Regions from separate parts of the Homo sapiens genome. Here all the other regions are linked to region 1. The links are contacts of gene promoters, found by promoter capture Hi-C in blood cells and fetal thymus (Javierre and others, 2016). All regions are on one chromosome and are shown on one strand. Each heading gives the region's core, a stretch centred on a gene start or on the middle of the fragment in contact. The rest is flanking DNA. Distances are from core to core; before and after follow the strand shown. Region 1 holds the start of FHL3 (four and a half LIM domains 3). Region 2 has its middle 31 kb from the start of LINC01685. Region 3 holds the start of MEAF6 (MYST/Esa1 associated factor 6). Region 4 overlaps LOC105378657 (a long non-coding RNA gene). Region 5 holds the start of GNL2 (G protein nucleolar 2).

Region 1 (4,796 bases), core at 1,090-3,589:
CCAGCCTGGGCAACTTAATAAGACCCCTGCCTTTACAAAAAATTAAAATTAAAATAAATTAGCTCAGTGTGGTGGCCCACACCTGTAGTCCCAGTTACTTGGGAGACTGAGGTAAGAGGATCGCTTGAGCCCAGGAGGTTAAGGTTACAGTGAGCCGTGATTACACCACTGCACTCCAGCCTGGGTGACAGAGCAACACACTGTCTCAAAAACAAACAAATATAGATGCACATATATTTAATAAAGTTATTGAATAATCAGGTATGTCAATATATGTAAAGTGTTCAGGACTGGTGCAAAGAAAGAACTCAGGAAGTACTGGCTCTCATTAAGGCTATTTAGGAGAGATTAGAGCCATGCATCAAGAACAGAGATTCCAATACTCTGCCTTTTATCAGGCCCCTTCTGTACTCACTCATAACCCCTTGCTTTCTGAAGGCTCCCCACCTTTGCCCTCCCGTCCCCCAGAGCTGACCTCCTCTTGGTACCCACTCCACCAAGGCTGAGTAGTCTTCACTGCACTCCCCTGGGCTGGGAGTCTCTTACACCTGCAAGATACATCCCAGAGAGGCTGGGCATGGTCACTCATGCCTGTGGTCCCAGCACTTTGGGAGGCTGGGGCAGGCAGATCAGATCTTGAGGTCAGGAGTTTGAGACCAGCCTGGCCAAGATGGTGAAACCCCGTCTCTACTAAAAATACAAAAAAAAAATTTAGCCGGGCGTGGTGGTGCACACCTGCAGTCCCAGCTACTTGGGAGGCTGAGGCAGAAGAATCGCTTGAACCTGGGAGGTGGAGGTTGTAGTGAGCGGAGAGTGCGCCACTGCACTCCGGCCTGGGCAACAGAGCAAGCCTCCATCTCAAAAAAAAAAAAAAAAAAAAAAAAAAAAAAAATCCCAGAAAAAGGCCCCATCCATGGGCTGGATGCTCACTGCCTGGACTCCAGATAGCAGGTGCCTGTGATCCAAACCGAGGATGTTAGAGGGGCATACATACTGAAGCAGTGTCTGGTATCCATTCATTCATCAGATGTTTATTATGTGCCGGATATTGGAGTAAGTACTGAGAAGGCAGTGGGGAACAAAACGGAGCCCTGCCTTCATGGCTCTTACCATTTAGGCAACAACAGCAATAATAAGCAAGCAATGATTTAATTTTGAAAGGAAACCAGACCTGGTGGGTGACTTGGGACCCAGGAACCCAGGCATGATGCAGAGATGGGACGGAAAGGTTCTCAGGAGCCCCAGCCTGGGAGGGTGTTAGTTCCTCCGTGAGAGCTCTGCTACACCCAGCCTGGGGTGTGGGGAGGCCTCTGTGGGCACCTGAATCTTCACTCTAGATGCTAAGGTTATTCCGGGGTTGATTTGTTGTCTCTTGTTTCCACAAACAGCACAGTAGAGCCTCCTGCCTCCCTCCCTCCCCCACCTCTTCCAGACTGAGGCTATTTATTCCTAGTGACAAGCCTGAGGATCCCAGGGGGGGTGGCCTTAAGGACCTGGAGGGGCCTCGTGTCCCTAGCAGGCGCCAGTCCTCCCTCACGGACACAGGGAGGAAGCCAGAGGCTCAGACACCGCAGAGGTCCCCTCCCCTCTCCTCCACCACCCCTGAGGTGCCCCATCCTCTCACACTCCTCACACCCCACCCTAGAAGCCCAAAGATCATGGGGCCGAGGATTAGGGTCTCCCCCGGGCCTCAAAGGTCAAAACTATTCCTGGGCACTGCGGAAACCCAGGCAAGGCAGGACTTCTCAGTGTCAGGAGGCTGCTGGAAGTGGGGAGGTGGTTACCCCTGTTTTTGCTACTCAAAGTTGTGGAATAAAACCCTTTGGAGGTCAAGGCCCTATGGTGGGGAGGGGTCCTCTCTTCGTCCCATGTTTTCAGAGAACACCTTGGTGCCCGCTGACAGGCTCATGACAGCAGAGTCAAAACGTCCTCCTCCAGGCTGGATTAAGGCCGGGCTGAGTGTCACCCCTGGGGTAAGGTGAAGGGGTGGGGGGATCCGAGGAGGCCAGAGGACTCCCCCAGTGGACCATGGTCTGCGGGGTCTCGTGTCGCCGGCCTGAGATGGAATACAGCAGTCTCCCTCTGGCAGCTGGGGATGGGGGGTGGGAGGGGAGGAGAACAGAGGCTGCGGGGAGGGGACAGGGGCGGGGTCCCGGCCGCTTGAAGGTTGGGAGAGCCAGGTTAGGCCGGGCGGGAGGAGGGGGCCGGGCCGACTGGCGGCCGAAAGGGAGGTGGGGGCGGGGTCTGGCCCCCGCGGCGGGCTGGGGGGCCGGGGGCGGGGTCCGGGCGGGGCGGGCCCGCGCTCACTTCCTCGGGGAGGGGTTGGGGCCGCGCTCCCACTCGCCCACACGGTCCGTCTGCAGTCGGCAGCCTCGCCGGCAGCTCGCTCGGCCCCCGCTTGGCCCGGCCCGCAGGTAGGAGCCGCCGAGGGACGCGGCGCCCGGTTCCCGGCCCCGCCTGCGCCGCGCGCTCCCCGCTCCCGCCGCCCGCTTCGAGGTGAGCGCCCCGCCGACCCCGGCTCCCAGCCCTGGCGGTCCGCCCCCGCGCCCAGGCCGGGGAGCGAAGGGACCCGCGGAGGGCTGAGGCCAGCCGCGGCCCCGGTCCCCTGTACCCGCCGGGCTCTGGCCACGGGTGCCCGGGGCACGCCGAGCCCGGGACAGCGCCCGCCGGGACTGGACCCCTCCGGGCTATCGGGCGGGGCGGGGGCGGGGGCGGCAGCGAGAGTTGGGCGGGGGAGGGGGCTAAGTTTGAAATAGAAAAGCCGGAGAGAGACAGACAGACCGACCGACCAGAAGCGCTGGAGAAACTGAGGTTCTCGGAAAGCCCGGTGGAGCGAGAGACCGAGACAGGCAGGGACTCGAGGCACAGGAGGCTACCGAGACCACTGAAACAAGGACACACCGGGCGTACAGAGTTACTGGTGGACAGACCCGAGGCATGGGGGCCGTCCTAGGCTTTGTGGAGCATTTTCAGAAAAAGCATACGTGGGACCCCAGCGAACACATTCCCTAGGGCCCTTCCCCGGGCCTTGGAGGTGCCCTGAGGCTTGGGCGTCATTGGCCTCATGCTGAATCTGCTCTCTGAGGCCTGCAGAGACGCTCAGAGACTAGAGACAGAGACATTCAGGCGTGCAGAGGTGGCGAAAGAGACTTGGATGCAGAGACAGAGAAAGGGAGGTGGTGGGGATTGAGACATTCAGCCATGTAGACAAGAAGAGACCAAGACTTGAGATCCACAGAGGCATGGGCCCCCTGGGGGACAGCCAGTCAAGATACAGAGCCGTCCAAAACCTAAAGACAGAGACTGAAGTGTGCCCAGACACAGAGATGCTGAGTGAAGCAGAGACAGACACCAGAAACTGAGACTAAGTGGGGGCAGAGAGACCTAGGTGGTCTGACAGCTTCCAGGACAGCCCCTGACTTACCCGGGCCTGAACCATTGGGAGGTGAGGCTGTGGGGAAACAGAAACTCTGAGCCTACCGATCCCCCATGAGGCAGAGGCCCTGAGACAGTAAGTTCGAGATCAAGAAGAGCCCCACGCACACACACAGCCACCAAGACAGCCCCAACTTATTTTTGAACTCAAATCTTGGATGGGCTGCCTCAGCCCTGGGGGACCCAGGGTGAATGAACTGTTCCTCTCATGTCCCCAGAGCAGCTGCGGGATCTTGCTCCCCAACCCCCTTCCCTAAACTTCTCTGACTTCCAGGCCACATGGGGGAGAGCAGAGCTTGGGGTTGGTGCCCGGTAGCAGAGGGTGAGGGTTGAGGGAGTTGGATTTCTCCCCTTAAGTCTCCTGTCAGCTTCTAGAAGGTGGGGGAGGGGTCTGTTCTGATCCTGACTCACAGCTGTGGGACCTGGCCAGGGTCCTCCTGGACAGTGGGCATGTTGGGGGTGGGGGCAGAAGGATTGAATGGTTGGCATGGGGCATTGGAAAGGCTTCTGGGTGTCTTCCAATCACAGGGCTAGCAGCTGAGGAGAAGAGCCAGGCTCTGGTGCATCTCCTGTTCCCCTGCCCTTAAAAACTGACCACCCCCATGTCACCATCCGCTTCATCACCAGGGCAGCATTTTTAGGGAGAGGGAAGAGCTCTGGGCTGGGAGGCAGGGGACCTGGGTCCTGATCGGGACCTTGGGCATGAACCTGCTCTATTCCTGGCCTCCTTGTGCTCAGCTGTAAAATGGGGATGATACTCTGTCCTGCCTGCCTTTTGTGAGATCTGATGAGATTGTGGTGGGCATGGACTTTGTGAGTGGCAAAGCAGCATGCAGGTGTCTACATCCGTGGACCTGCATGAGAGATCTCAAGAGTTAAGCTTACTAGAGTCAGGCTGACCGGACTGAAGCGACCACTTTCCCCACTGGTGTCCTCAGCAAGCCCCATGGGCCTGGGGCCCCCTATTCTCTCCCTGGGCCTATGCTGAGAATGTCCAGGTCAAATTTCAGACCAGGCTGGGCACAGTGGCTCACGCCTGTAACCCCAGCACTTTGGAAGGCTGAGGCCAGAGGATCACTTGAAGCCAGGAGTTCAAGACCACCCTGGGCAACATAGTGAGAACCCCATCTCTACAAAAAATAGAAAAACCTAGCTGGGCATGGTGGCACATGGCTGTAGTCCCATCTACTCAGGAGGCTGAGGCAGGTGGTTTGCTTGAGCCCAGAGTTGTTTTTTTTGTTGTTGTTTTGTTTTGTTTTGAGACAGAGTTTTGCTGTTGTAGCCCAGGCTGGAGTGTAATGACATGATCTTGGCTCACTGCAACCTTCACCTCCTCGGTTCAAGCAATTCTCCTGCCTCAG
Region 2 (4,796 bases), core at 889-3,388, 500 kb before region 1:
AAGCGCTTGCAGTCCTCAGATTCTTTACTTCTTCCCTTCCCCCACCCCAATTTCCCTTGTCTCCAGCAAGCGATAATATCTTTCATCTGAGACTCCCTCCCTGCCTCCAGTGACTCCCTCCCCTGATGAATTCTCTCTGGGTGACTCTAGCATTTGCATATTCCTCGCTTGGATATTCTGAGATGTTGGAACCAGAGAGCAGGTTGACGCGATCAGGTACTTAGCTGAATGAGGCTTTCTTGGGAACTGCACAAATATTTGGAGTCGGGTGTGTGCCAATAGGCAATTAATTGAAATGTGGACACAGCAAGCTTCTGGAGGAAGGAAACTGAAGTTGAGAAATTAACTGTGGGAAGTGATCTTCCGCAAGATACAAAACAGTAATTAGGGAATTTCCTTTAGTGCAAACTGAAATTGATTTGGTATGGTAAAAGGACAAAACAAAAAACAGTGAATGAGTGTAGGATTAAGGTTAACTCCTATGATACTAGGGCTGGAAGGGGTTCTTGGAGAACACTGGTCTGACCCTCTTGGAAAGGGAAGAGAACCCAAGGTAAATGGCAAGTCACGGCAAATTCAGGACCAGAAGCAAGATGTCCTGACTCCAGCCCAGGGCACCTTCTACTTTTTACGCTGACTGTCTACCTGGAGACCTGGATTATCATATTAGGAGCTAAAGGGCAAGGACTGCGATTTAAGCATTTTCCTGTCACCAATGACTTTGTGAATACATTTAGTAAAACCTGTAACAAAATCAAGCTTCTCACTGAGTGTACTCTTAACTCGAGTGGAAGCGCATCTGGCCAACCTCCTACTTGGTGTCTGGCTGCCTGCTGAGCACTGGCGATGGAGCTGGTTAAAAATAGAGGCCCTGCTTCATGCTGTGTGATGTTGGCCTGATGCCAGGTGAGGGCCCCACTCCCTGTTTATCCTCTTTGGAAGGCATGCAGCCTCTAGGCCCATCTATGTTTCCCCATCTCCCAGGAGAATGGACCCATCTCCTTAATTGTTATTATTATTATTATTTTGAGACAGAGTTTCAGTCTTGTTGCCCAGGCTGGAGTGCAATGGTGCGATCTCGGCTCACTGCAACCTACACCTCCTGGGTTCAAGCAATTCTCCTGCCTCAGCCTCCCAAGTAGCTGGGATTACAGGCGTGTGCCACCACACCCGACTAATTTTTGTATTTTTAGTAGAGACAGGGTTTCGCCATGTTGGCCAGGCTGGTCTTGAACTCCTGACCTCAGGTGATCCGCCCACCTCGGCCGACCAAAGTGCTGGGATTACAGCCGTGAGCCATGGCTTTTTATAAATGATGAATAAGGAAAGAAGATCTCTGTGCCATTGCTTTAAGATTCAGATTGTCTTAAGATGATATGAAATCCCTTTTTATTGCTCAGATATGTAGGGCCAGAGTGATCATTTTTTAGGCTTCCCCTAGAACATGGCTTTCAAAGTGTCGTCCCTGAACCAGATGTATCAGCACCTCCTGGGAACTTGCTAGAAATGCAAATTCTCAGGTTCCACTTTAGCCCTCCTGAATCAAACTCTGGGAAACAGGGCCCAGCAATCTGTGTTTTAACCAGCCCTCCAGGGGAATCTGACGTACAGTGAAGTTTGAAAACCATTGCCCCAGAAAATTATGATGTGGAAGTCTGGGCTGCTGGATTCCAGCACCAGGAAAGTAATTTATTTTTGATTATTGGACCCTTAAGAATAAACTCTCTTCATTTCAGAATGCCCAGGTGAGCTGTTTCCATACATTGCTGAGTGTTAAACAGGAAAAAATTTCTAAGTAATTCTTCAAAATTTAACTGACCAGCACAGCGAGACACAATTCTGGTAACCTGACATATTTCCAGCAAGTGCAATATTTTCATATTTTAAAATTCCATGGAATGACTGAATAAGTTAATTGATTACCTAATCTGTTATTTTTAGAATCCCACTTCCTTACCTCGTGTGAAAGTTTATTCAAAATTCAAATGGGAACATTTTATTACCCCAAAGTGTTTTCCTATATACTTTAACATGTTACTAAGGAAACCAGTTGTAACATCGCAGTGATATTGTTGCTCTAGCAAATTAACAATTCACCAACATATATGCCATGCTATAATGATTTTTTCCCTCTCTCTCTGGAAAATTTCACGCTTATTGAATTTACACATTTATAACACAGGACATTGGAAGCAATGGGAATAAAGAGGTAAGGAGAAATTGTATCCCAGAGTGACAGAGGATATTTCCCAGGATGTGTTTTGTGCTGTTTGAGCATAGGCAGAGCGAGGTGATTTTTCATTCAGCATCAGGAGCTCCTCTGCGTAGGGAAGCTGAGTTAGAGAGAGCAGCTATCTCGCAAGGGCAATTTGGTGGTGGGGCTTGGGGGCTTCTAACTGGTGAGTGCTAGAGACGACTAAAACTGGGTGTGTGGTACAAAGTGTGTGCTAATCACACGTTTAGAGAATCAAACCACATCAAAGCGGTAGATCACGTGAGCCCCTGCGATGGCACCAGGAGATGGGGACACAGCCCAGTGGGAGGCCTCCTGCTTTTTCTTTCTGGAAGAGGGGGAGGAGACGTTATTAATGATGGGATGAATTAGAACAGATGGGTACTTTTGACACATTTTCCCTTGTTGTTATTTTCCAATTTCCCATCTTCCCACCACCTAGTCATGTGGCTTTCTCTTGGTTAGGAGTAAAGGCATGTGACTTTTTAAAGGGAAGCCTCAGGAAGGGAGGGTAGAAATGGAGACATTGGCTTAGAGCTCAGAGGGCATGCTTGACAGATGCAGAAAGTCCTCCTGAAGCCTTTGCTGGGTGCAGCAAGGAGGAGACCGCCATGCCCACTTGGCCTTTCTGATGCTGTGCTCAAAGATGAGCCATGTGACCCTTTCTCACTCGCTCCATCCTGTCCCCACTCCATCTGGGCAGCCATCACACCCTCCCTGATTACAGGTACCTTTCTGCAGCCTTGAGGAGATTTGCATTGTAAATGGTGTTTGTTAGGCCCCTGAAATAATATTAATCATGGTAAAACAATTACGTTGCATAATTTGTACATAAAAAAGAATGAACCTTTTGCTGAATTAATGTTTCCTCTACTACGTATCTTTCTTGTCCCCACAAATAATGAGACCCTGTCTGCCCTTCTGGGTGAGAAAGGCTTTGAAAAAATAAAACTATCTGCCTTCTTATGGCTTCCTGAAACATTGCACAGATGTCCAGGGCCGGGTAGCTTATGTAATTTCAGGTGGAATAGACAAGCACCCTGGTAAAATGGACATCTTGGCAACCCATAACAGAAATCTTAGGGAGCTGGGACCCAACCTCCACATGCACTATAGGGGATTGAATGGTCTCCCGACTCCCAAATGTATCCACATCCTATTCATCCTCCAGGTCCCAGCTTAGAAGTCAACCATTCCAAGAAACTTTTCTGGACCATCTGAGCTTGGTTGGGTGCCCCTCTTGGGGCTCTCATAGCATTTCTTTATTTCCCTTGGCAAAGCTTATCTGTTTGTATTAGAATTATGGTATCTCTATCTCCCACCCTGCTGCAGGTTGAGGGCAGGAACTGTGTCTGCTTAGTTCACCATTGTATCCCTGGCAACAAGCCCAAGGCCTGTATACAATAGGTGTTCAATAAAATATTTGTGAAATGAATGAGTTGAGAATGTCAGAGATGCCTTCCCGGATCATTAGGCTCAGAATTTATCATTGATTAGGATATTGAGGAATGTTATATTAAAGGGCATAACTATCTGACCAGTTGTCAATCTCAAAGGTTAAGGATGTTCTCAGAATATTCTAGATCATTTTATAAGTTACTACCCACAACATCATCTAAATCATTTGGAAACATTTTAGCATGAAGGAGATGGCATTATTTGATGTCTTCAGTTCCTTTCTCCTTTGTGACTGTATTTTTAGCATGACCACTTAGAGAAATGAATTGCAAAAGTCTAACACTGCATAAGGTAACAAATTCTATGTTGTTTCTAAATGAACTTCTGCAAATGTCAAAGGAAACCCCTAACTTGAATACCTAAATGGGCTGAATGTGGAAGCCCCCAAAGTGACAGTAGGTTTGGAGCTTGCCACTTCTAAACTTTCTCACCACGCTGAGTACAGGTCATTTCAATCTGTCCCTGCTCTTCCTTTCCTCAACACAAAGTCATTGTCACCCTCCTCTAGATTCTTTCTGGCCATCTTGAAGAGAGGTGACTTATTCACAATTGCAGAGCCTGGTTAGATGTGCTGCACTTTGAGGGCTGTTTTATTTGGTGACTTCAAGAGCAATGCTCTGTGGCTGGTGCAGGGGAAAGAGCCCTGGATCAGGAATTAGAAGATCTGGATTCTCGTCTGGCTCCTCCTACTCCCCATGGCCTCTCTGGGCTCCAGTCTCTTCATGAGTGAGGTTAGGATGATCACACGTGCCTCATAGGTAGGTGTGAGAACCAGAAGAAGTAAGAGACATGAGGGTGCTTTATAAACTGGAAGGTGTGCAGGTGTGAAGGTGACCTGCACATAGTAATTACTCAGCTAACGTCTGCTGAGGGAATCTGTCCTGTGTCCATGGATGGTTTTGTACCCACATCTGTGCAGCACAAGGGAGCCTCCCGCTTGGCTTATGAGGATTTGCCAATGACACCACAGCATGCCCCCTCCATCCCTTGCCTTGTTTTCTAATTGTCTTTCCTCTCTCACTCTACAACACTCAGAACTTGATCACATTGTCAGAATGGGAAGGCTCATCACAGCTTTTTGGCTTTGTATCTAAAATCCTGCCTT
Region 3 (4,796 bases), core at 834-3,333, 490 kb after region 1:
AAGCGATTCTCCTGCCTCAGCCTCCTGAGTAGACGGGATTATAGGCGCACACCACCACACCTGGCTAATTTTTTGTATTTTTAGTAGAGATGGGGTTTCACCATGTTGGTCAGGCTGGTCTTGAACTCCTGACCTCGTGATCCGCCCGCCTCGGCCTCCCAAAGTGGTGGGATTTAGCCACCGCACCCAGTGGCTTAAAAGTTTTTTTACTTGTTTGTTTTTTGGTTTACACTAGGAATATAGAGGTACTTCCTCACCTTGAAAAACAGCATCTACAAAACTCCCACAACTAATGTCATACTTAATGGTGAGAGACTGAATGCATTCGCCACCCCCCCTTTTTTTTTTTGAGACGGAGTCTCGCTCTTGCCCAGGCTGGAGTGCAGTGGCGGGATCTTGGCTCACTGCAAGCTCCGCCTCCCGGGTTCACGCCATTCTCCTGCCTCAGCCTTCCGAGTAGCTGCGACTACAGGCGCCCACCACCACGCCCGGCTAATTTTTTTTGTATTTTTTAATAAAGACGAGGTTTCACTGTGTTAGCCAGGATGGTCTTGATCTCCCGACCTTGTGATTCACCCGCCTCGGCCTCCCAAAGTGCTGGGATTACAGGCGTGAGCCACCGCGCCCGGCCTGCATTCCCCTTAAAACAGGGAACAAGGCAAGGATGTCTAATGTTATCACTTTTATTTAACAGACTACTGGAAATCTGCACAATAAGGAAGAAAAAGAAAAAGCACTCAGCTTAGAAAAAAAAAAACTCCCTATTTATTTGCAGATGAAATTATTATCTATGTAAAAATTCCAAGGAATCTATACAACCCCCCCTAAAATTAGTAAGGGAGTTCAGCAAGATGGCAGGTTACAAGATCCGCACACGAAACCAGTTATTCAGAATGCAGCACAGAGGGACAAAAAGATGGAAAATATAGACGGTAGGTTAAAAAGCTTCTTATGTTCGAGTTCCAGAAGGAGAGAGAAATGAGACAGGCATCTGAAGAAAAATGACTGCGATTTCCCAAAACTGGTGGAAGATACCAACCCACATATTATAGAAATCCAAAGACTTCCAAGCAAGAAACAAAACAAAAGGAAGAAAAAATATCCCACTTAGACTTATGATAGCGAAACTGCAGAACAGTGAAAGATGGAGAGCTGAGGACGGAGAAATCCACAGGGGCCAAGTGAAAACAACGTTTACACCTTGGACTTAACGATAAAAGCGAACTCGTACTTGCACAGTCATTGGCGCCTGCCAAACCCCTTACACATATTAGGTGATTTACTCCTCACAGCAAATGTATTAGGTAGATTCTATTACTGCTTGTATTTTACAGATGAGGGAGTTGAGATTTGGTTATTTGCCCAAAGGAGCACACTTTATCGATGTAGCGATAGGATTTTGAACAAGGTAGTTCTCGCTCCAGTTTTGTGCCCTTAACCACTACACATACTTGTTTCTCCAAAGGGCACTGGGAAAATGGGAAGCCACTGAAAGACTTTAAACCGGGGAGTGATAACATTTGTTTCTGGAAGATCCTGGCACCACTGTGGATAGTGGATTAAGTGGGGCTAAAGGTGGAAATAAGCCGCTGGAATAATGTAGCCCCAAACAGGGAGGGCCTGAATGAACTAGTGAGGTGGCAGAAGGCGCAGGCACAAGCAAATGGATTCGCGAGCTCTTCCGGAGTCGAGTCCATAGAGCTTGACCTGGGATCGCGTTTTACTCCAGGTGCAGAGTGAGGAAAACCGCGTTTCTGACGCAGGCAATTCGGTGGATAGTGAAAGTCATTCACTGAAGTGGACTGAAGCGGGGCGCACAGGAGACTCGGAGGCCTGAGGACGAGCTAGGCTTTGGACGCGGTGGATTTGTGGCGTCTGTAAAGCCGGCGGCCAGCCGAGGGGCAGGAAACGGCAGAAAGCAGAAGCCGCATCTCTAGAGCTCTCCGAGAAGGACCTTCGAGAGCCCCGGCCTTAGCGAAGCTCGGCACGGCGCTGCACGCGTCTCCGGAAGCCGCGCGCGCAGGCGCAGAGCGGGGGGGCGCCCCCTGGCGGCGCAGGGACCGCCCCCAACCTCGCGCCGCCGCCGCCCGCCTCAGCCCAACATGGCGATGCACAACAAGGCGGCGCCGCCGCAGATCCCGGACACCCGGCGGGAGCTGGCGGAGCTCGTGAAGCGGAAGCAGGAGCTGGCGGTGAGGGGCTAGGACAGGGGTTGCACGGCATGGGGCTCCGCGCCCGCCCCGCCTCCAGGCCCCAAGCCCGGCCGCGCTAGGCCGTTTGTTACTCCGGGGGCGCGGCGCGGCGGGCCGGGTGCTCGGCGGCCTGAGGCCGGGTGCGCATTCTGCGGCCCGCCGGCGGTTCAGCTTCCCGGCTGTGCGAATCCGGAGCCGGGAGAGAGCCGGGAGCGCGGGAGGGGGAGGGGAAGCGGCAGCCGCAGGAGGGGGCGTGGAGGGAGGACGGTGCCGGGGCCCGGGGAGAGGGCGCTAGGAAGGGCGAGCGTCAGTGAGCCGCGGGGGTGGGCGAGGCGGGCTAGTCCGTGATCTTTGCGGGGAGGGGGTGGGGAAGGAGGCTAGTGTGGGAGGGGGACCCAGTCACCCCGTCTGGACTTTGGAGGCTGGTGGGGAGCGTGTTCTTTTTGGTACTGGGAGTAGATCCGTTGAATGGAGGTTTTTGATAGACAGGGTTGTGATGTGTTTGGGAACATCTAGAAGGTGACAGGCGAGGGAGAAGAACACATTCCGGAGAATTCAGAATTGTGACAGGCACCCAAGGCCCAATGCACTCTGGTGGCTAAGCTCTTCCTGCCCCCGCGTCTCGGCTTGGGCACCCGGGAGGCCCCTCTCACCTGAAGCTGCCCTTCTAGGTTTCCATAGCAACTGGCAGCCCGGTGTCGGCGGCCTCTCTTGAGCCTGCGGGGAGGGGAGCGAGTTGACGCTGAAAGGCTGCTCACCTTTCCCTCTCCTGGTAGCGATACCTTTTGTGCGTGGGAGTGGACATCGCCCAAGTTCTGCGTTAGCCTGGGCTCTTGACTCATGGTTTCCGTGAATCCTCTAAAGTATATGCAAAATTTCGCGTGTGTGTGTATTTTTCTGGAGACATGCTTTATACATTCAGGGGTCCATCACCCCCAAAGGTCTAGACTGTCTTAGTCCTAAACGGCTCCTCCTCCCCGTATCTTCCATCTCTCCACAGGGTGGTTTAGTGTGGGCAAGCTTGCGTTTACGAGTCTAATATCAGGATTTCATTTTGGCCAGACTTAAGTGTTTGCATTTAAAAGGTATCATTCATGTCCTTGTTTTTCATCTCTCAGGAAACATTGGCAAATTTGGAGCGACAGATCTATGCTTTTGAGGGAAGCTACCTGGAAGACACTCAGATGTATGGCAATATTATTCGTGGCTGGGATCGGTATCTGACCAACCAAAAGTGAGTGTCGAAAGCCTGTAGTGTTCCTATTGTGCCCTAGTAACGTTTGTTTTTAGGACTGTATGCTCTTAGTGGCAACTTTGCTGGAGGCAGTAGTAAAGTAGTGGTGTGATCTGGACTTGAACTCTTGGACTCTGGCTCAGGCACTGCCTCACCGAATAATCTTAGACAAGGCTCACATCTGTAAAATAGCGAAAGTTGGGCCTATGGCACAGGGTTGTGTGAGGCTTAAATACAGTATCTTTATACAATAGCATTCTATTAAATTTTTTACACATTTTAATCAGTCATGAGTTCTACCCTCACAGTATTTTTCTTTTCTTTTTTTCTTTTTCCTCCTGAGTAGCTGGGATTACAGGTGCGTGCCACCATGCCTGGCTAATTTTTTTATTTTTAGTAGAGACGAGGTTTCTCCATGTTGGCCTGGCTGGTCTCGAACTCCTGACCTCAGGTGATCTGCTGCCTTGGCCTCCCAAAGTGTTGGGATTACAGGTGTGAGCCACCACGCCTGGCCACTTTTCTTTTTTCTAAGAGACAGGGTCTCACGCTGTTGTCCAGGCTGGAGTGCAGTAGCACGAACTTAGCTCACTGCAGCCTCAGACTCCTGGGCTGAAGTGATCCTCCCACCTCAGCCTCCCAATTAGCTGGGACTACAGGCACACCATACTGTACCTGACTAATTAAAAACTTTTTTTTGTAGAAGTGGGATCTCACTTTGTTGCTCAGGCAGGCCTGGAACTCCTGGTTTCAAGCAGTCCTCCTGCCTCAGCTTCTCAAAGTGTTGGAATTAAAGGGGTGAGCCACCACGCCCAACTGACCCTCACAATTTTTGCCATACCTGTGTGCCAGCTGTACCACTGCTTACTTAGTAATATTATTTTTAAAAAATTTCTAAACTTTTAGAAAATCTTCAAATTATAGGAAAATGGGAAGAATAGTATATGAACACTTGATACCCTCCTACCTATATTCACAAATTGTTAATGTGTTGTGACATTTGCTTTCTCTTACTTTCTATAATATATATTAATATAAGCACACATCTATATTTACATTTCACATTTTTAAATTGTGAAATAATTATAGATTCATAGGGAGTTGGCAGAATGGTCTCTTGTACCCTTCATCTGGTTTTCCCCAATGGTTGTGTTTTATGTAGCTATAATACAGTATCAAAGCCAGAAAATTGACATTGGTACAATGTATATATATAGTTCTGTGTCACTTTATCTTGTGTGTAGATTCATGTAACCACAATGAAGTTACTGAACTATTCCATTACCACAAAGATCTTCCTCATGCCACTCCTTTGTAGTTATATCTCCCAGTCCCCCTACCTTTTTTTCCCACTTAACGGTTTGAAAGTTAGA
Region 4 (4,796 bases), core at 1,572-4,071, 480 kb before region 1:
ACCAGTGAATCGTTGAATCATGGGGATCAGTCAAAGAATAAAATGGCACAGAGACATGAATTCACAAAGTGGAGGTTAATATTCAGTTAAATTATATGAAATTGCTAGTTGTGCAGATCAAAAACAGTCAAATATTGGCAAGTTCACGTAGTTTAACCTAATAGTCCTCTAGTCTCAAGGGGGGCAGTGAGGTCCTTTCTGAGCACCCTGGGGCTTCATTCTAGAATAACCAGCTTCCAGCTGGCAACTGACTGGAGACGTTCAGGTTCCTGTCTGGAGTGCTTCCACCTGAGTTCAGGATCCCTGCATGGAGAGTGTCATTGTGTTTCCTTCCATCTGAACCAGTCTTAACCTGCTGTCCATGCCACTTCACCCGAAACCAAGATAGCCTTTACCCTGGCCCCAAACTCTCTTTGCTTGTGACTTGGGGAGCAGCTGTGACCCAGCAAGAATACCCTTGAAGCCTCCCATGGAATAGCCTGGTAATTCCCAGATCAAGTGACCAGTTCATTTCACCACCCCTACCCCAGCACCTAGTATTCATCCTGTTAAGGTGATGTGTAGGTTATGAAGCACTTTGGCATCAATCATCATAACAATCCCATGGGAGAGGTATTATTATCTCCATTACACCGATGAGCACCAGAGGTCACACCTGCTGATGGCTCTGGAGCACTGTGCTATGTGACTTAAACAAAATATTTCATTTAATTCTCATAGTCTGTTATGGGCAAAATTATGTTCCCCTGCCCCTGGAAATTCATATGTTAAAACTCTAACCCCCAGCACCCCGGAATGTGGCTGTATTTGGAGATGGGAGCCCTTAAGGAGGTGACTGAGTTAAGATGAGGCCTTTAGGGTGGGTCCTAATCCAATCCAACTGGTGTGTTTATAAGAGGAAATTTGCAGACACACAGGCACCGAGGATGTGCATGCATAGGAAAGCCCCCATGAGGACATGGTGAGAACATGGTCATCTGTGAGCCAAGGAGAGGGTCCCTGGAAGGAACCAACCCTGCTGACACCTTGGTTTTGGTCTTCCAGCCTCCAGAACTATGAGACAATTCCTGTTGTCGAAGATGCCCAGGTTGTGGTATTTGTTATGGCAACCCTGGCACACTAATACACACCCTTCATGACAGAGTACTACTATTATCCCCATTCTGCAAATGAGGAAACAGAGGCTCAGAGTGGTTAGGGATCTTCTCCAAGGTGGCACAGCTAGGAAGTGATGGAGCTGGAATTCTAACCTAAGATCATGTCTCTGGAGCCCACTGGCTACAACTTTTCCCTTGTTTATGTGAAGGGAATTGCTCAAGGTCACACGAATAGAATAGTGAAGCCGAAACCTGAGGCCACATGATGACATCATCACTTGCTCCCCAACAGTATTTTATCAATCAGTGTTGCCATAAAACACAAATTCATTTCTAGCTAACAGTTCCCTAATTCTTAGGCTTGAGAGGATAATAAAGATCTGTGCGCAATAAATAGAAAACATTACATAGTCTTAGTATTCAAGTAGCAGAATGAAACGCCATATGGAATTCCATAGGTGACTTTTTGTGCTGTAAAGTTACCAATAAATGTAAAGATAGCTTAAGATTATGATTATGATAAGGGCGAGTCAGGGGAAAGGCGCCTGAACTCGAAGCCCGGATTTTGGTTTCAGCTTTACCACTTAATGCCTTGGGCAAGTCATTTGACTTCTTTGCACTTGACCTTGAGCAAGTTATTTGACTTCTCTGCACTTCACTTTCCTCCCCCGCAAAGCAGGGTCAATAATTCCTGTGTGGGATCCCTCCTAGTGCCTCTTGAGTAGCAAACAGGGTAAGAAATAGAAATAATCTGTGTGAACTGTCAAATACTGAACGAACCTATGCATTATCTTTGAGAACACTAACAAGAGCCACAGATTTACATTATGTTCTGTTGAGGGCCTTCCCCAGGCTGTGCGGAAGGAGCCTCTAGAAAGGATCTGGCAAAATGGGAACCATGTGAACGGTGCCAGAGCACCAAACTCCACATGGGGTGCTTGGAAACCTCCTGCAACCTCTCAGCACGCAAACTGTTGCAGTTCCCAAACCAATAAAGATCTCACTGCCTCGGAAGGAGAGCGAGGTGTGATTTCACATTCTCCACACGGCTGCTGACTGCACACACCACGCAGCCCGCGATGGAGTAGGCGCGCGCATGTGTCTGTGTGTGTGTGAGTGTGTGTTTGTACTTGGAGAGGGTGTCTGTGAAATCTAAAGGGCCAATATCGCACTCGCTGCAGCACTCAACAGCCAGCACCGTCTGGGGAGCTCCATCCTGTATTGACGCAACTGTAAGTTGTAACAGATAGCATTCTGGAATTCATGTGTGAATTTGTTTAGGGTGGATTTATGGGGGAGTTTGCTGGCTTTCCCAAGCTTTCAGGAAAAGTAGCCAACTGTAAGCTTACTAGAATCGCCATTCACTTTAGTTCTGCTAGGGGACTCTCTTCTGTCCAGGAGGTAGGAGAACCATGGTTACCAGGGGCAGGGAGGTGAGGAGATGGGGAGAGATTGGTCAAAAGGTACAAAGTTGTAGTTATGTAGGATGAATGTCTAAAGAGCTGATGCACAGCATGATGACTGTACTTAATAATACTGTGCTGGATACTGGAAATTCAATGACAGTAGATTTCAGGTGCTCTCACCACCCACACGCGTGCAAGTGTGCACGCACACGCAGTAACTATGTGAGGAGATGGATATGTTAATTTGCTTAACTGCAGTAATCATTCCACTATGTGTATGTATATCAAACATCTCATTGTACACCTTAACTGTATACATTTTTTATTAAAAAATAACAGAACAGTAACATGTGAGGTTGTGGCTGTTATTATCATTAGTTGTAGTAATAGCAGAATTGTGAGTGGGATTTTGGCAACTTTACTCTGTAAAGGTTTTACAGCTAAGGTTGATTTAAGAATCCAAGATTTAGCAACAAGATGACCTCTCCTTCCTCCCTTCCTTCCTTCCTTCCTTCCTTCTTTCCTTCCTTCTTTCCTCCCTCCCTCCCTCCCTTCCTTCTTCCCTTCCTCCTGCCTGCCTGCCTGCCTTCTTCCCTTCTTTCTATATCTCCACCCATTCTCCCTCTTTTCTTCTGAAAAAAAACACATTGATTTTACCTTTCTTCTGGGGGTATCCCCTAAACTGGGAACAAGCTTTGAAACTTCAGCGAATTCATTTATACCTAGGTATGTTCAAAAACTGGAAGAGAGGGCCAAAAGAGACCTGTGAACCAAGATGTTTGGTGGGAAGGGACAGTGACAAACGTTCCTGGGCTACAAGCCCTCAGATGTCAGAGCAAAGCCCTGCTCCACCCGCTGGCATTGTGCAGGGGCGGCAGGCGGTTCTCCCAGTTCTATAACTGCTTTTGTGACCCCTTTGTACCCCAGGCTGGACCCTGGGAAACACTAGTTACACATCTCCAGGCAGAGGCTGCTGAGGTGGGCTTTAGAGATGTTAATTTGCGTAATGATTTAGAGTTGATTGACAGGAAGCAGGACAATAAGCCTGGAAATGTGAATGAACCAGGCTGGAGCTGAGGCTAGAGGGCCCCAGGAGATGGAGGAATGGAAGATTTCTGTCTAGATTTAGATTCCCAGGAAGCAGACGATTTGGTTAGAATTCAGATCTCTGCAGCCAGAACTCAGCAAATAGAAACTAAGTAATTTTGACTTTTTTAAAACCAGGGGGTCAGTGGATGAGCTTTAGGGGATCCTTGAAATGAAATACAACATTTTATTTGTGGGTGAATTTCCCTGGAGACAGGAGACATAGCTTTCATTAGATTGTCAAAGGCATTTGTGACTCAAAAAAGTTTAAAAGCCACTGGGCCCTATGTCTCCAGGGAGCAGACGATCTCAGGAAGAAACAGGTCTCAACTGTCAAATCCAGATCGGTGTTAAGACCCCCAGTGCTCCACTAAATTTGCTCCCACCCCACCCTCACCTCCTAATTGCTAAGTTCACTGTCACCCTTTTAATGCTCATATGGCATTTGACACTCTTGACTACTCCTGCCTAGAAACTCTGTCTTCTCTGTTTCCGTGACACTCATCTTCTGGATTTCTTTTTGCCTCTCTGATTTTTTTTTTTTCTGTATCCTTCGTGGACTTGTTTTCTTGGTCCACCTTTTAAATGTCTCCCTTCTCCAGGGTTCCATTTCATGCTCTCTTCTGTTGACTCAATACACATGCCCTTAGTGGCTCTGCCCACAATCCCCCTCCCTGGGAATTCCATGCCATGGCATCCACCTGCCCTCTACGCCAGGAACCTGGGTGGGATCTCATCCCAGCTGTGTCCTCCCCCCATCAGTAGGTCTGATCAGCAATAGAAGTCCTGAGTCAGATCAGATTGGGGCCCTCATCCTTTTCTTTCCCACTGCCCCTGCTTAGCTCTGTTGTCAGCCATTCAGCAGCTCCGGCTCTCAGCAGCCTCCCCAAGCTGCTCCCCTGGCCCACGGCCTCTCCCACAATCCATTCTCCACACTGTTGTTGCAGTGATATTTCTAAAACACAAATGTAACTTTATCATTCTCTACTTAAAACCTTAGGGCCAGGCTTGGTGGCTCACACCTGTAATCCCAGCACTTTGGGAGGCTGAGGCAGGCAGATTTCATGAGCCCAGGAGAAAAAAAAAAATAAGAAGTTCAGGATAAATGGGAAGTTCAAAATCTTTTTTTTTTTTTTTTTTTTTTTGAGACGGAGTCTCGTTCTGTTGCCCAGGCTGCAGTGCAGTGGTGCAATCTCGGCTCACTGCA
Region 5 (4,796 bases), core at 952-3,451, 410 kb after region 1:
ATCCCAGCTACTCGGGAGGCTGAGGCAGGAGAATTGCTTGAACTGATGAGGCAGAGGTTGCAGTGAGCTGAGATCGTGCCATTGCACTCCAGCCTGGGTGACAGAGCAAGACTCTATCTGAAAAAAAAAAAAAAAAAAAAAAAAGTAAGGTCAGGATTGTCTGCTTCCTGTGAAGACACCAGTCCAGAACATGGCATTTCCAGCCAGTCTCCATCCATTAAGGTCTTCTCATTCACACAAACCTGTGGTTACCAGGAGCAACATTTGAGGGGATGAGTAGCTCACCTTGGATTTTGAGAAAAATAGAAAGCATCCCTGGCCGGTGCAGTGGCTCATGCCTGTAATCCCAGCACTTTGGGAGACCGAGGCGGGAAGATCTCGAGGTCAGGAAATTGAGACCAGCCTGGCCAACATGGCGAAACCCCGTCTCTACTAAAAACACAAAAATTAGCTGGGCATGGTGGTGCGTGCCTGTAATCCCAGCTACTTGGGAGGCTGAGGCATGAGAATAGCTTGAATCTAGGAGGCAGAGTTTGCAGTGAGCTGAGATCATGCCACTGCACTCCAGCCTGGTGAAAGGGCAAGACTCCATCTCAAAAAAAAAAAAAAAAAAAAGAAGAAAAATAGAAAGCATCCCATCTGCATGATGTGTACCATGTCTGCGATGCTTTCATATACTGTAACTCATATGATCTTATTGCAGTCTTTCAGAGTAGTTAAGCTATTGCATCTGTTTTAAAGCTGAGGAACTGTAGACCTGGAGGTGTATCTTGCCTCTGCTAGTTGGCATGACATCAGAAAAGAGAGTGAAAAATAGTCACTGCATTACAATGCGGCAAGCAGGGCAGGCAAATCAAACCAGTAACTTAAGCTTGACTTACCTTGATCAGGCTTTTTATCTGCTGGTAGAATTGAAGTTGGTTGTCGAGATCGGCAAATATTGTTGTAAAAGGATTGATGGGTCAGATTATAAAAATAGATGGAAAGTTTGTAAGATAAATGCAAGCAGAGTATGAGAACAGGAGAGAAACAACCCACCATATCATCTGGGAAAATGAAACTCCTTGGCAAGACTTCACAACAGCCTGATTCAAAATTTCATAATGAAATTATGTCTCTGATCAAAGCCTGAATGAGCTCATAGGCTGATTTTTGCCATCCGTGTTTATTCTGGTTTGCACCAACTTGAGGCATCAGAAACACATTAACTGAATCTTCTCTCTGGGAGGAGGCTATGGTATCCTTGTTTTGGGGATCAGAGGGACAGTGTGGGGTGGAAGGGGGCATCTTCACTGATCATGAAGTTTTTTCCAAATAGCTCTCAGAGCTTCCCTAACACAGGTCACAGTCAGGGCCTTCCCAGCAGAGCTGCATTTAATCTCATGATACTTGCCCTTGGGGCAATAAAAGCGAAGCTTGAGGGACAGAAGGTATTTCCAGCTCTAGCCTATGACATGGCCTGCTTTTGCTCTAAAGAGAATGTTTTGGGGTTTGTTTCAAACTCAGAGAAATAAAGACTCAATCATCCCCTGCTCAATTAGAATACCTCACTTTATAACAAATTGTTTGTTTTTATGAAATGAGCTACACTGCATGAATCCACCCTTCCTCTTGCCTAACCATCTCTTCTTTGGCCTATCCAGAGGGTACAAAGATGGCCATTTTCTGACAATTTGAGGTACCAAAAAAGAGAGAGGGACCAGGCGAGGTGGCTCACACTTGTAATCCCAGCACTTTGGGAGGCTGAGGCAGGTGGATCACCTGAGGTCAGGAGTTTGAGACCAGCCTGGCCAATGTGGTGAAAGCCCGTCTCTACTAAAAATACAAAAATTAGCTGGGCATGATACCATGCGCCTGTAATCTCAGCTACTTGGGAGGCTGAGGCAGGAGAATTGCTTGAACCCGGGAGGTGGAGGTTGCAGTGAACCGAGACCGGGCCACTGCACTCCAGCCTGGGCAACAAGAGCGAGACTCCGTCTCAAAAAACAAAAACAAAAACAAACAAACAAAAAATAAATTGTAAAAAGAGAGAGGGCTTCTTGGTTCAAACACTGGCATCTAGACACTTTATTCTGGCTAGTAGAAACAGAAATCACTGGGTCTTAATGCCTTCCTTCATCCTCAAGGCAAGAGACATTCCCATCTACTCATTCTTTCACTTAATGAATATTTTTTGAGTCCTTTGTTTCAGATGCTATTCAAGTCTTAAAGACACAGCAGTGAACAAATTAACAAGGTCCCTGCTTTTAAGAATCTTACATTCTAGTTTGGGGGAAGCAGCCAATAAACTTGTAAAAAAAATTCAACTAGTGATAAATGCCATGAAATAAATAAAACAGAATACTGTAACAGAATAACTGTGAAAGGGTGAAAGGTGGCTGATTTAGACAAATTAGACAGGAATGAGTTCTCACAGCAGGAAGGGTCACCAGATAAAATACAGAACGTACAGTTACATTTGAATTTCAGGCAAACGATGAATACTTTTTTAGTCTAAGTATTTTCCAGGCACTGTTGGAGGTGTACTAAAGAAAAGTATTCATTTTTTTTCTCTGAAATTCTAATTTAATTTGGTGTCCTGTATTTCTATTTGCTAATTCTTGCAGGCCTACCAATAGGTGATATTTGAGCTTAGGATTGAATGACAGCTATGCAAAGATTCTGGGAAAGAGTGATTCAGGCAGAGAGAATATCCAGTGTAAATGTCAGAATAACCAGAGGGAGGGACGTACACATGAGATTAGATAAATAGGCAGGCAGGGGCCAGATCACAGAATCCTGTAGGGATGGCAAAAAGTTTGAATCAATCTCTGTCTCTGTCTGTTTCTCCCTTCTCCCTTCCCCTACCTCTCATTCTAAGAGTGATGATAAGCCACTGGAGTTGTAAGGAAGAGAATGACACCTCCTAACGGATATTTGGCTGCTGTGTGGTCGGCAACTTTTGGAAGGACTTAGAAGACAAATTCAGAAGACAAACTTAAGCTTGTGCCACTGGCCTGGGAAGAAGCTTCTTTATTCGGAGGTGGACCCAACTGGGAGCTCTGGCCGCGCGTTCAGGTTAACTAGGCGGTTGCTATGAACGGGCAGCTTGGCGGTTGCTAGGGCTGGAGCGGGCTGGGGCTCCACGCAGGGCGACGCCTAGGCGGCTGGAGCGGGGGCGGAGCCAGGAGGGTGACGGCGCGCGCCGCGCGTTCACAGGAAGTCGCTCTGAGGCCGAGAGGGACGCGAGCGGAAGTGACGTACGTCGTGCACACGTGGTCCGGCGTGGTTCAGGCGGGTGTCTTCGGCCGGGCTTGGGAACATAAAAGTTTGTTTCACCACGTAAGCCGGACCTCGCACTCCGGTCCCGGTCTCGTCGCCAAGATGGTGAAGCCCAAGTACAAAGGACGGAGCACCATCAACCCGTCCAAGGCCAGCACAAACCCAGGTACAGGCGGCAGGGCTGATCGAGGGTGGAGCTTGGAGGAAGTATAGGGAAGGGCTCCGAGGAGCACTGGAGGGGAAGGAGGGTTACTCGAGTGGCATTGCTTAGAATGACTACGAGCGGGGTGGCTGTTGGGGATGAAAAGGGAAAAAGGAAAGCAATATTTGTGGTGGTTTCTTCTCAGGGGGGAACTGAGGAGGGCTCAGTGCACGCCTGGCAGGCCAAAGTGTAGTCAACTGGTCTGAAGTCAAGGAAAGTGAACACTCAGGCTGACAGCCTTGGGTCCTCTCCAGTTGAGAGATGCAGAGAAAGTCAGATTAAAAATGGTGTAGGTTGACCCTTCGGGCCTTTTACACGTGATCATACTTGCCTGCCACCTTAGCTTTGACCTTTAAAATGAGAAAGGGCTTATAGTTTTGGCCCTTGGAATTATTCTATCTGGTAAAGTGCTTAGAGAACCCTACAAAGAAGTCAGTATGATCATTGCAGTAAGGCTGTTTAGGAGATGTGTGTAAGTTTTGGCGAGGTTCCACCTGTACGATTAACAAGACATCCTATGGGAGAGTTCCTTCCATTCAGGTTTAATTAATAAAACTTTGTTTTAAAATATGGTTTAGAATTTTTGACAATTTTAATGCAAGTTGAATGTTTATTCCGGATTGATAATAAATTATTCACTTTGCACAAACTGGAATCTCAGAATGTTAGACCCCAAAAGGCCCTTAGAGATTATGATTTTACAGGTGAAGAGACTGAATCAAAATACAGGAAGTGGCCTGTCATAATTGCAACAGTTAGTGAGTAGTAGTAGAGCCGCCAGTTTCTACTGTTAGAGACTGTTAGGAGAGCCAATGGGCTGTGGTTTCAGCCTGTCTTCTACTGTATCACTTCAGGACCAGACAGGTGATTTAAGGGGCTCCTGGCCAGGTGTGGTGGCTCACGCCTGTAATCCCAGCACTTTGGGAGGCCGAGGCGGTCGGATCACCCGAGGTCAGGAGTTCAAGACCAGCCTGACCAACATGATGAAACCCCCTCTCTACAAAAATACAAAGATTAGCCGGGCATGATGGCGGATGCCCGTAATCCCAGCTACTCGGGAGGCTGAGGTGGAAGAATTGCATGAACCGGGGAGGTGGAGGTTGTAGTGAGCTGAGATCGCGACACTGCACTCCAGCCTGGGTGACAGAGCACGACTCTGTCTCAAAAAAAAGATAATAATAATGAATAAATGAATAAATAGGTAAATAAAGGGCTCCCAAAATGAGAAGCTAGGCTAGTATTACCCTATTCGTTTGTCCTTCTCTTTCTCTTTGAGATGTAAGGCAAGAATTGCTGTGTTGATTAAACAAAAATCAAACATTAAGAAAGTAAG

The links. The method cuts DNA at HindIII sites, captures the fragments that hold promoters and counts their contacts. A CHiCAGO score of 5 or more calls a contact.
Region 2: a fragment that was not itself captured here is called in contact with the fragment with the promoter of FHL3 in region 1 in 1 of 17 cell types (total B cells); the score reaches 5.7 in total B cells.
Region 3: the fragment with the promoter of MEAF6 here is called in contact with the fragment with the promoter of FHL3 in region 1 in 7 of 17 cell types (fetal thymus, activated CD4 T cells, total CD8 T cells and 4 more); the score reaches 8.7 in fetal thymus.
Region 4: a contact is called between a fragment that was not itself captured here and the fragment with the promoter of FHL3 in region 1, in 1 of 17 cell types (total B cells). The highest score is 5.9, in total B cells.
Region 5: a contact is called between a fragment that was not itself captured here and the fragment with the promoter of FHL3 in region 1, in 1 of 17 cell types (fetal thymus). The highest score is 8.2, in fetal thymus.

Annotation. Positions count from the first base shown.
Region 1 is chr1:38,003,057-38,007,852 of GRCh38, reverse strand. It overlaps FHL3 (four and a half LIM domains 3), which reads left to right and starts at 2,339. Exons shown (of 6, transcript NM_004468.5): 1 at 2,339-2,496. RefSeq lists silencers at 2,219-2,278, 2,309-2,668 and an enhancer at 3,521-4,329. The HindIII fragment of the contact is 9,980 bases long and covers 1-4,317 here.
Region 2 is chr1:38,503,852-38,508,647 of GRCh38, reverse strand. No RefSeq gene overlaps it. Among named protein-coding and RNA genes, the nearest start is that of LINC01685, 31 kb to the right of the region's middle. The HindIII fragment of the contact is 2,754 bases long and covers 762-3,515 here.
Region 3 is chr1:37,512,053-37,516,848 of GRCh38, reverse strand. It overlaps MEAF6 (MYST/Esa1 associated factor 6), which reads left to right and starts at 2,083. Exons shown (of 7, transcript NM_001270875.3): 1 at 2,083-2,192; 2 at 3,311-3,426. The coding sequence starts at 2,103. RefSeq lists a silencer at 1,899-2,498. The HindIII fragment of the contact is 2,267 bases long and covers 948-3,214 here.
Region 4 is chr1:38,484,938-38,489,733 of GRCh38, reverse strand. The region is part of intron 2 of LOC105378657 (a long non-coding RNA gene); the gene reads left to right. Among named protein-coding and RNA genes, the nearest start is that of LINC01685, 12 kb to the right of the region's middle. RefSeq lists enhancers at 1-118, 3,969-4,729, 4,730-4,796. The HindIII fragment of the contact is 755 bases long and covers 2,444-3,198 here.
Region 5 is chr1:37,594,390-37,599,185 of GRCh38, reverse strand. GNL2 (G protein nucleolar 2) reads left to right here and starts at 3,249. Exons shown (of 16, transcript NM_013285.3): 1 at 3,249-3,427. The coding sequence starts at 3,364. RefSeq lists enhancers at 3,331-3,520, 3,691-3,750. The HindIII fragment of the contact is 1,567 bases long and covers 1,418-2,984 here.